2 separate regions of the Homo sapiens genome follow, and region 1 is linked to region 2. Evidence: promoter capture Hi-C in 16 types of primary human blood cells and fetal thymus (Javierre and others, 2016). All regions are on one chromosome and are shown on one strand. Each heading gives the region's core, a stretch centred on a gene start or on the middle of the fragment in contact. The rest is flanking DNA. Distances are from core to core; before and after follow the strand shown.

Region 1 (5,723 bases), core at 943-3,442, 220 kb before region 2:
AACTTTAAGATGATTTTGTCTTTTAATCACATCATGGTTATAATTTCAAATGATTTTTCATTCCCTCCTTTCCTTCCCATCACACAGACTATACTGTAAATATACTCTCTGAAGTTGCACAACGTGACAAGCTTAAGCTTAGCCACACAAGTATGTGCATATACAATTATTTTATTTTTTGATCTGATGCTGACAGTGCTGTGCGTTTTACCTGAACTCAGAAAATTTAATTTCTAAATTATAATATATGGTTAGATATTTACTAAAATCCTGAAACTAGAATTTTACTCCCAATCTTAGACCTTGCAAATGGTAACTCTAGTTTAGTGTACACATTTTCAACATGGGCAATATTACTCCCCAAGAGGAAAAAATTGTTTTTTTGGGAGGGTATGAAAAAAAGTATGTTTTATATATAAAGCATAGATACACATACAGTCCATTAAAGCATATACAGTGTATCTATGGTGTTAAAATTTTACAGTGGGGTGCTGAATAGGAAAAACAGGTCTAAAAGGGTTCCATAAGGGGGCTGATAATGGAAATAAAAGTTGAGAAACATGGCCCTAGTGCTAAGCTTAACAGACAGCTGTTTGACGAACCATCTGGCATTAGATTTTTTTCCTGCATGATTTCCTGTATTAGAATATAAGCTTCTTAAGGACAGAAAATGTAATCTGATTTGTATTTTCAATAATAGCTAACACAATAGTTACGTTCAACTGCATTCAGTATATGTATATTTAATTGAATTAATATGGAGTACATCTTCCCCTACTTGCACTCATCCTATTAGCTCTATAAAATCTAAATGTAATGACCAAAATTAGTCTAGTAAAGCACAACCTATCACAATCTCCCTCACAAAAATCCTAGTAAAATAATGACAAATTTTATTCAAAGAATGGAAAATCTTCAAAGTAGCATAAGAGAAGGAGTACAGACTAGAGACAGAGAGATGAATCAGGGCTTTGATTTCCACCTCTTATCATTTGCAAGCCGAGGAGCCTTGAGCCAAGTTATGTAAAGAGAAAGTGAAAGAGGATAAAAAAGAATAAAAAAGGGACCTTTCTAGGGGAAGGGTACAAGAAGGGACAATGGCATTTCTAGCAGGTTTTTGTTTTGTTTTGAGACAGGGTCTCGCTCTGTCTCCAGGCTGGAGTGCAGTGGTGCGATCTTGGCTCACTGCAACCTCTGCCTCCCGGGTTCAAGCGATTCTTGTGCCTCAGCCCTCCCCCCGAGTAGCTGTGATTACAGGCAAGTGCCACTAGGTTTGGCTAATTTTTTGTATTTTCAGTAGAGACAGGGTTTCGCCATGTTGGCCGGGCTGGTCTCAAACTCCTAGCCTCATGTGATTCGCCTGCCTCGGCTCCCAAAGTGCTGGGATTACAAGCATGAGCCGCCGTGCCTGGCCCTAACAGTCTTATATACACCCAAAATTTCAGGCATGCTGAATTTCTGGCAGTTCCCCAAATAATGCATGGCTCAAATATGCCGTATTTCACACTTACATATTTTATATATACATTCACATTCCTCTTCCCAGAACATCATTTATTTGTCCTCCAATACTCAGCTCAGGTCACACTTTTTTTTTTTTTGGATGGAGTCTTGCTCTGTTGCCCAGGCTAGAGTGCAGTGGCACGATCCTGGCTCACTGCAAACTCTGCCTCCCAGGTTCACGCCATTCTCCTGCCTCAGCCTCCCAAGTAGCTGGGACTACAGGCGCCCGCCACCACACCTGGCTAATTTAAAAAAATATATATTTTAGTAGAGACGGGGTTTCACCGTGTTAGCCAGGATGGTCTCGATATCCTGACCTCGTGATCCGCCCACCTTGGCCTCCCAAAGTGCTGGGATTACAGGCGTGAGCCACCATGCTTGGCCAGCTCAGGCCACATTTTCCCTAGGAAGGCCTCCATGACACGCTTGTGTGCCTTCTACACTGAGTTAGATACATATATTCTTGCTTCCCTAACATTCAGATCATACTTCTACTATAGTACTTATAATTAATGGTTTACATGTCTGCTTCTCTTACTAGCCTGAGAACTTCTTGAGAGCTGAAATGGTTTTATTTATTTATCTTTTCAGACAGAGTCTCGTTCTGTTGTCCAGGCTGGAGTGCAATGGCGGGATCTCGGCTCACTGCAACCTCCGCCTCCTGGGTTCAAGTGATTCTCCTGCCTCAGCATCCTGAGCAGCTGGTTTACAGGCGCATGCCAGCACACCTGGCTAATTTTTTTTTTTTTTTTTGCATTTTTAATAGAGACAGGATTTCACCGTCTGGCCAGGCTGGTCTCAAACTCCCAACCTCAGGCGATCCGCTCGCCTCGGCCTCCCAATGTGCTGGAATTACAGACAGGCGTGAGCCACCGCGCCTGGCCTATTTATCTTCTTAACCTCAACATCTAGCACAGTGCCTGACATGTTAGTGAACAACTGACTTGTTGAATTAACTAATAAAAATACAGGCATACAAGAAGAGCACAGTAGCATTTTCAGCAATTTGACAAATGAATATTGCTTTGTTTTCTTCAAAGGGCCACTACTTTAAAATTGAATAATCATCTTTGTATATAGTCAGACCTAAAACAAAGCTCTGTACACTTCCTGTGTCAAATAATAATAATGTAAGTCCTTTACACTAACTCATTTCATCATTGCAATCCAATGAGGAAAACCTTATTATTTTTCCTTTTTTTTTCCTCAGATGAGGAAACAGGCTTGTAAGAGGTAAACTAATTTGCCTAAGGTCACATATTTAATAAGTAGGGTTTCTAGCTCTGGCATGTATGGTGCTAACTACCACACTATTGTGCCTCTCAAAGTCAGCTGAGTAAGAATACTCACTGTTGCACAATATCTCATCCCTCTGTCTGACCCTCTCCACCTGCAATCTCCCATATACACTCACTTAGGAGAAACAAAGGCTCACGGCTCATACATGCAGCTTGTGATTTAGAAAAAAAATGTGCCCACATATGCTCGGCTTTGCTTAATGTAAACAAATATACTAATCAATATGGTATAAACCTCCAGGACTATTCTGTTTTAATAACATGTAGATACAATGTAATGATTTTAATTACTTTATTGTCCTGTCAAATTCTTTAAAATGGGAACTTGAGGCCGGGTGCGGTGGCTCACGCCTGTAATTCCAGCACTTTGGGAGGACAAGGTGGGCGGATCACCTGAGGTCGGGAGTTTGAGACCAGCCTGACCAACATGGAGAAACCCCATCTCTACTAAAAATACAAAATTAGCTAGACATAGTGGCGCATGCCTGTAATCCCAGCTACTCAGGAGGCTGAGGCAGGAGAATTGCTTCAACCCGGGAAGCAGAGGTTGTGGTGAGCTGAGATCGCGCCATTGCCCTCCAGCCTGGACAACAGCGAAACTGAAACTTCACCTCAAAATAACAAAAAAAAAAGGAACTTGGTATGCTGCTCCAGCAATTTAAATGTGTCAATCCACGTATCCAATGTTAAATTATCTTTTCCAGAAAGCAAAATGTGAAGCGGCTTATAAAGACTTCTTGTCAAGTATCACAAGCTCTCCATTATTACTTTACTAAAGATGTCTGTGATGCCACTTTGCAAAATAACTGTAGGGAGTGGCATTTGGTTCCTGGGGTGGAAGAGGTGACTATGCCTACTAAATCATGGTATTGTCTCAAATGAAACCAAAAGAACCAAAAAACCAAGAGAGAAAACAAAAAGACAAAAAAAGAAAGCTTTTTCATTTCTGAAAACTTTGGGGCTGTGTGGTCCTATCAGGTGCTGCTATTTCTGGGTTTACTATTACTACAATCTTCAAGTCCTAAAGATTTTTGCTTCCTGTTGCAGTCCTTTATTCATTCATAACCAAGCTGCATTGTACCATTTGTATCCAATTTAGCTGGATTCCAACATCAATCCTATCTTGCCATGAAGTATTAAAGGCTGAGTTACCACTGGGGATGTGGGAGGTAAAATGAGCATTTGCCCTAGAGAAATCCTAGATAAGGAGTGCCACGGAGAACATGCATATCAGACCCCCTCTTCCTTCTGCTCCACACAACCTTCAAGTTTTCATGAACACCTAGAAGAATTAACAGGCAAGAACACCAGTGTTGATTTAATGTTGGCAAGATTCAACATATTTTGAGGTAAGAATACAATACTACATGTCTATTATTTTCAGACATTTAGGTTTATACTAATTCATAAACTTTAGGTTTATATTAATTTATTCCAGCATTAACAAAAGCTTGGAAGTTTGTTGGGAATGGGCATTACATAGATGACTACATGTTCTAGGCATCAAGCACCATATTAGAAATGATACGAAAAAAATAGTAGTTTTGAAGCACATGAATTAGTTTGTGGGAAAGAGTAGGTGGAAAGGAGATCAGGCAGAGGCAACAGCAGTTACAAAGGCAGGACGCATAAGAAAGTCTAGCAATTATGCTTTTGTAGAATATGCCAGTCTAGTGACTTCTATCTTTTTTTCCCTAGCTAGGATTTGAACCTATCTTTTTTTATAACTTTTTTTTTTTTTTTTGAGATCGGGACTTGCTATGTTGCTCAGGCTAGTCTTGAACACCTTGGTTCAAGCAACCCTCCTGTCACAGCCTCTCAAGTAACTGGGATTACAGGCACATGGCACCATGACCAAGAACTCCTTTAGCACTACCATTTGTGCCAGTCTTCTTGGCTTGTGACATCTCTTCAACTGTGCACTTATCATTTTTTAAATTAACCTTTTAATTTATCTCCTTCCCTAAATTATAATCTCTCTTTGTTTCTCCAGAATGCCAAGAAAGGTGCTTTGCATTGAGTAGACACTAATAAGTAACTATTGATTGCCTGACCAAAAAAATCATGGCTTATGTACTGTAAGTCTTCATTAAGAATGCTAAGATTAAGTCAGGTGCAGTGGCTCACGCCTGTAGTCCCAACACTTTGGGAGGCCAAGGTGGATCACCTCAGGTCAAGAGTTTGAGAGCAGCCTGGCCAACATGGTGAAACCCTGTGTCTACTAAAAATACATAAAATTAGTCGGGCGTGGTGGTGGGTGCCTGTAATCCCAACTACTTGAGAGGCTGAGGCAAGAGAATTGCTTGAACCTGAGAAGTGGAGGTTGCAATGAGCCGAGATTGCGCAATTGCGCTCCAGCCTGGGCGACAGGGCGAGCCTCTGTCTCAAACAACAACAACAACAACAAAAAAAAGAATGCTAAGATTATATTTATAAGAATAAAGTAGAACGTTGTGAACAGAAGATAACACGTCTATTCGCTACGCTACTTTTATTACCTATTTCCAGGAGGAACAAATACTACATACAGTCAATGTTTATGGCTGTCAATCTAGAAAGCAGTAGGATTGACAGCAATTACTCCCTTATAAAAATACAAAGACAAATTTTAGAATAAGAATAAGATCTTATTATAATCACTGAGAATTAATATGGAAAAAAACTGGACTTGAACTCTGAAAACTTGGATCTGAATCAAGGTTCTGCCACTTGTTGTGTACTTTGGTAAATTACTTCCACCTTTGAGCTTTTTTCTCATCTATAAAATGAAGTTAAGACTTCCAACTTCACAGGATCATAAAGAAGAAATTAAAAATGCATATGCAGCCGGGGGCGGTGGCTCACACCTGTAATCCCAGCACTTTGGGAGGCCGAGGCGGGTGGATCACGAGGTCAGGAGATCAAGACCATACTAAACATACA
Region 2 (5,821 bases), core at 159-2,658:
CCACCGAGCCCAGCAAATTTTTGTTTTTTAGACGGAGTCTCCCTCTATCGCCCAGGCTGGAGCACAGAAATGCGATCTCGGCTCACTGCAACCTCTGCCGCTTGGGTTCAAGTGATTCTCCTGACTCAGCCTCCCGAGTAGCTGCGATTACAGGCGGGCACCACCATGCCCGACTAATTTTTTGTATTTTTAGTAGAGACGGGGTTTCACCATGCTGGCCAAGCTGGAAAATTTTATTTTTAATAAATGAAAGGCAGAGTATTTATCTGAAAAAAGTGGGAGACCAACAGTCTCATGGGATTGTTATAAAGATTAAAAGAGAGAGTGTTACTGAAATACTTAGAAGAGCTGTTATTCTATTGCTGTCCTTTCCCCTTGTATTTGGATAGATTACCGTACTTGTTTCTTCTATGTAACTCTAATTGTCAGTGGGGTTCTCCCTCTCTTAGAGGCCTGGAGAAACTTGTCTTAAATGCTTTCCCAGTTAATGAATTGGGAGAGGCAGATTTTATGTCTAAATTACAAGGGCGAGACTTAAAAGTATGAATTGGGGCTAATGTCAGTGCTCAGGTGCAGGGATCCTCCGTTTTGTTCATCACACAGCTCCCGGCACTTTAATAAATGAGGCTCAAAGAAACGACGGGCTTAGGTCATGCAGTAGTCAAATTCAGAACTCATGTTTGATTCCAAAGCCCACACGTTTTCCTAGTTTAGAAACACTAAACATTTAATTCACCGCACCGGGGGCCAGACAGGTAATGGAGAACGCCTTAAGTATGTTAGGAAGGGAAGTTATCTACAGTCGCAGCCGCTATTCAGATCTATTTCACTGCCTTGCAGAAAACGCCGACTGTCGTCTCTTTATCCCATGGCCGATTTCTTGTGAAATCTCCTAACTTTTAAATATTTCCAATCAAAAGACTGCCGTTCAAATGCAGCCCACCAGGAGCATGTTTGCAAACTCTGGAGTAAACAAGAGTGGGAAGCTGATAAGGTGAGTACCTCAGTTCGATAGTGACAGCCAAGAAACGGGGAGTTTTGTACCTAAGGCGAGAAAGAAATTCTCCGCCGAAATCTCCCGGAAGAAGGACTGAATTAAATGCAGATTAGAGTCAGGGCAGGGTAAGGTGGCGGGAGAACTAGGCTGCCATCCCAGGTGGCTGGCCTACCAGCCAGCGCGGCCGGAGGTACAGACCATGTACAGACCACGGCGAGGGGTGTTAGGGGCTTCTCGGGATAAAGGCAGCGAGTGGCTGCGCATTCCCTCCCCGACTCTTTCAGAGGTAAGCCTTCTGTGGAGCAGACCCTAATCCTCCCCCTGATTCCTTAGGTCACTCGGCGATTTACTTCCTTCCCCCGCTTCCTCACAGTCCTCCACAGCCCTACGACTTCCGCTTGCCTCGTCGTCTGGGAAACCGCCGACTTCCGGCCGCGCAGCGGTGGGCTGAGCTAAAATGGCTGAGGAGAGAGTCGCGACGGTGAGCGCCGAGATTCTCTTTAGTTGCCCGGCCGCAGGGCAAGGCAAGCTGGCGGGTGGCTTTTGTCCCATGCAGCGGTTCCTGGAGAGAGGCGGAGCTGGGTGCCGAGCGTCTCAGGGTGGGCGGGGCGACACGGTCCCCTTTTTACTGTCCCGGGAACTGGTCGCCTGGGGCAAGTCTGGATACTTAGCAGCACAGGTCCTGTTCTAGGACTGTAGTCCCTCTTGGGGTGCGCTGGACGGAGAAGGGAGACTTTTCACCAGTAATGGCTCTTACCGTAGTGCCATCTTTTTCTGTCTCGGGGGTTTGGAAGGTAATGACTAGCACTTGTGTAGACAGTTCCTGTTAATCCCGTGAATTGGGAATTTAACATGCCTGGAAGCTTGCAGCGTCACTGCCTTCTGCCAGTGGAGCGGGACTGTGTTTTTTCTGTGGTGATTAAGTTTAGGAAAGTACGGTTTTGGAATTCATCTGAAGGCTGAGTTGGGCGTTCACTCCACAGAACTGCTAATATAGAGGAACCCGATGAATTCAGGATGACCTAGTCGCTATTTTTTGAGGCATATATCTATAATTGGATCTAATTTCGGTAAAGTGCCAAGTGTGAAGCTTTGTTTACCTTGCTTTAGTGTTGGGTTTGAAAGCCTGTTCTGTCCATTTGTTAGAATGATTTTAGGTATTCGGAATTTATTGTCTTTCGAAAAACGCCCTGGAAAACAGTACAAATAGCAGCCTTTGGCTGTTTTACAACTTAGTTTTGGCTAAGCAGCAAGGTTAGTGTTATTGTTAGAGGGCCTTTTGTTTGTTTTCTACTCTCATTTGCAGAGTAGTCATATTATTCTAGTCTAATTAGAAAACTCTGAAGACAGAAACTTTTTTTTTTGAGACGGAGTGTCGCTGTTGTCGGCCCGGGCTGGAGTGCAATGGCGCGATCTCGGCTCACTGCAACCTCCGCCTCCCAGGTTCCAGCAATTCTCCTGCCTCAGCCTCCGGATTAGCTGAGAATACAGGCGCCTGCCACCACGCCCGGCCGAAACATTTTTATTAAGCTAAGAAATTTAAAATAGCTAGGCCGGACGCGGTGCATCACGCCTGTAATCCCAGCACTTTGGGAGGCCGAGACGGGTGGATCACTTGAGGTCATGAGTTTGAGACCATCCTGGCCAACATGGTGAAACCCCGTCTCTACTAAAAATACAAAAATTAGCGGGGCATCGTGGCGCTCGCCTGTAATCCCAGGTACCTGGAAGGCTGAGGCAGGAGAATCGCTTGAACCCCGGAGGCGGAGGTTGCAGTGAGCCGAGATCATGCCATTGCACTCCAGCATGAGCGACAGAGACAGACTCCTTCTCAAAAAAAAAGAAAGAAAAAACAGATTTTAAAATAATTAAATAGGCCAGGCTCAGTGGCTCACGCCTGTAATCCTAGCACCTTGGGAGGCTGAGGTGGGTGGATCGCCTGAGGTCAGGAGTTCGAGACCAGCCTGGCCAACGTAGTGAAACCCTGTCCCTACTAAAAAAATACAAAAAATTAGCTGGACGTGGTGGCGGGCGCTGGTAATCCCAGCTACTAGGGAGGCTGAGGCAGGAGAATCGCTTAGAACCCAGGAGGCAGAGGTTGCAGTGAGCCGAGATCGTGCCATTTCACTGCAGCCTGGGCATCCAGAGCAAAACTCCGTCTCAGAAAAAAAAAAAAAGTAAATAGCATGGTTAATGTTACTGGGTTTTAAATATTAAAAACATAGGAAAGAAAATACTTCCACTCCAGCCTGGGTGACAGAGCAAGACTCCGTCTCAAAAAAAAAAAAAAAAAAAAAAAGAAAATACTTCTAAGTAATCTTAAAGTGTAAAAGATAATGGGTAACATAACATTGCTACAAATATAGCTTATCCTCTAGTGCTCATCACAAGTGTTTGTGTAATAGAATATGAACTTGAGTCTGTGACGGCAGAATTGTCATGTACATTTGAATGTCTAATACTGTTTTAAAGAGAATAGCTTTTGTTTCGATATGACTTAGCAATTAAGCCTGAAGTTAACTGTTTTCATTGTTGTCAAATTTATTGCTAGTAGTGTTACGTTTATAGTAATTTTCATCTTTTCAAGTTACCAATGCATGGAAATGTGAATTTCTGTCCTTTTAGGAAGTGGTATTTTATCTTTTTTTTTTTTTTTTTTTTGAGACGGAGTCTCACTTTGTCGCCCTGTCTGGAGTGCAGTGGCGTGATCTCAGCTCAGTGGAACCTCTGCCTCCCGGGTTCAAGTGATTTTTCTGCCTCAGCCTCCCGAGTAGCTGGGGTTACAGGCCCTCACCACCATGCCTGGCTTATTTTTGTGGAGATGGGGTTTCACCACGTTGGCCAGGCTGGTCTTGAACTCCTGACCTTGTGATCTGCACGCCTCGGTCTCCCAAAGTGTTGGGATTACAGGCGTGAGCCATGGCCCCCTGCCTTATTTTTTAATACAATTAAAAGAACCCAGTAATCCTACTCCTAGACCTGTGTCCCACAGAAAAAAGTGTTAAACATGAGCGTGTAGTACTAGGGCATTCGTTGTAGTACTATCCGTAGTGGCAAAACGCTGGAAGCAAATTAAATGCCCATTAATAGGGTAATTGATGACTTCAGATATTTCCATACTGTGGAATATTATGCAGTCATTAAAAAGAATGTTACAACTAATTGCTTTTCCTCTCAGAAGCCCCTCTCTCTCACTAGAGAAAGCTGTTCTCCTTTCTTTCTTCTGCCTATTAAACCTCCATTCCTAAACTCAGAAAGAAAAAAAAAAAAAGAGAATGTTACGACTAATTGACTTGGAGGGACTTCCATGGTGTACATTTAAATAAAAGGTAGATGTGAAGTGGGGTATATTATGTGATCTTAATTTCATAACACAAAGGAAAACATATAGATCCGTAGATAAGGATATATGGATATGGAGGAGAGAAAAGGAAAAGACTCAAAACTCACAGAATTTTTGAAGAAATGTATAGCTAAAAATCTAAGAAGGCTACAGTCAAGGCCTTGAGGCCAGAAGACACCCCATCAAAACTGAGTAAAACTAGCCCAGTGTGGGACGCAGAAATTCTAGTATGCTACCAAAATTACTTACGGATTGCTACCAGTTCCTTAGAAGGAAAACTGAGGACTAATATTTGTATTTTCAGTATAGTTTAGAATTCTTAAAAAATGAGCAAACAGGCTGTACTTGGTGGCTCATGCCTGTAATGCCAGGACTTGTGGAAACTGAGGTGAGAGGATAACTTGAGTCCAGAGGTTTGAGACCAGTCTGGGCAACATGTTGGAGCCCCATTTCTACAAAAAACACAAAAATTAGCCAGACGTGGTGGCACGCGCCTGTCTTCCCAGCTACTGGGGAGGATCATCTGAGCCTGGGGGAAGTTGAGGCTCCAGTGAGCCATGATCATGCCACTGGACTCCAGCAGGGGCAGAGTGAGACTTTGTCTGAAAAAAACAAAAAATGAATGAGCAACTAACTCTGGCTTTCATGATTTGTGCTTATAAATCTTTTTATTTATTTATTTATTTATTTATTTATTTATTTATTTATTTATTTTGAGACGGAGTCTTGCTCTGTCGCCCAGGCTGGAGCGCAGTGGCGCGATCTCGGCTCACTGCAACCTCCGCCTCCCGGGTTCACGCCATTCTCCAGCCTGAGCCTCCGGAGTAGCTGGGACTACAGGCGCCTGCCACCACGCCCAGCTAATTTTTTGTATTTTTAGTAGAGACGGGGTTTCACCGTGTTAGCCAGGATGGTTTCAATCTCCTGACCTTGTGATCCGCCCGACTCAGCCTCCCAAAGTGCTGGGATTACAGGCGAGCCACTGTACCCAGCCTATAAATTTTTTTTATAATGCCCTGATTCCCATTATTTGATGTATTTGGATAAATATGTCATCCTGTAAATTGAAGGATTAAACTGATAAGAGCAGAAAACAGAAATTAGTACACTAGTTGATCTGGCTCAGATATAGTGCCTATGTATCAGGTGCTCCATGAATATTTGTTGGATGAATAAATGATCATAAAACTATATAAAAATGAAGAAATAACAGAATAAAATAATTTGTTCTATATAAATCCTATGAATGAGATTGAGTGGGCTAATAGAATCCTTTCCATCTCAAAATGTTCTGGAAAGTCTTGAGTAAAAGACTCATCAAAAAAATAATTCTGCTTTGTGCAGAAAGAAGGGTTGCTGACCTTTGAAGGTGCTTTTTGAGTCTTTAACATTCTTTAGTAGTATATTCCCCAAAGTTAAGAAATTCTAGTTAGATTTTAAAAAATTGAGTTAACATTTAAAAAACAGTTTTGTTGAGGTAT

The links. The method cuts DNA at HindIII sites, captures the fragments that hold promoters and counts their contacts. A CHiCAGO score of 5 or more calls a contact.
Region 1: a contact is called between a fragment that was not itself captured here and the fragment with the promoter of HIGD2B in region 2, in 1 of 17 cell types (naive CD4 T cells). The highest score is 5.0, in naive CD4 T cells.

Annotation. Positions count from the first base shown.
Region 1 is chr15:72,461,036-72,466,758 of GRCh38, forward strand. The region is part of intron 1 of TMEM202-AS1 (TMEM202 antisense RNA 1); the gene reads right to left. Among named protein-coding and RNA genes, the nearest start is that of TMEM202-AS1, 10 kb to the right of the region's middle. RefSeq lists an enhancer at 971-1,240. The HindIII fragment of the contact is 3,083 bases long and covers 652-3,734 here.
Region 2 is chr15:72,684,774-72,690,594 of GRCh38, forward strand. It overlaps HIGD2B (HIG1 hypoxia inducible domain family member 2B), which reads right to left and starts at 1,409. Exons shown (of 3, transcript NM_001350932.3): 1 at 1,045-1,409. BBS4 (Bardet-Biedl syndrome 4) reads left to right here and starts at 1,434. Exons shown (of 16, transcript NM_033028.5): 1 at 1,434-1,478. The coding sequence starts at 1,455. The HindIII fragment of the contact is 12,662 bases long and covers 1-1,858 here.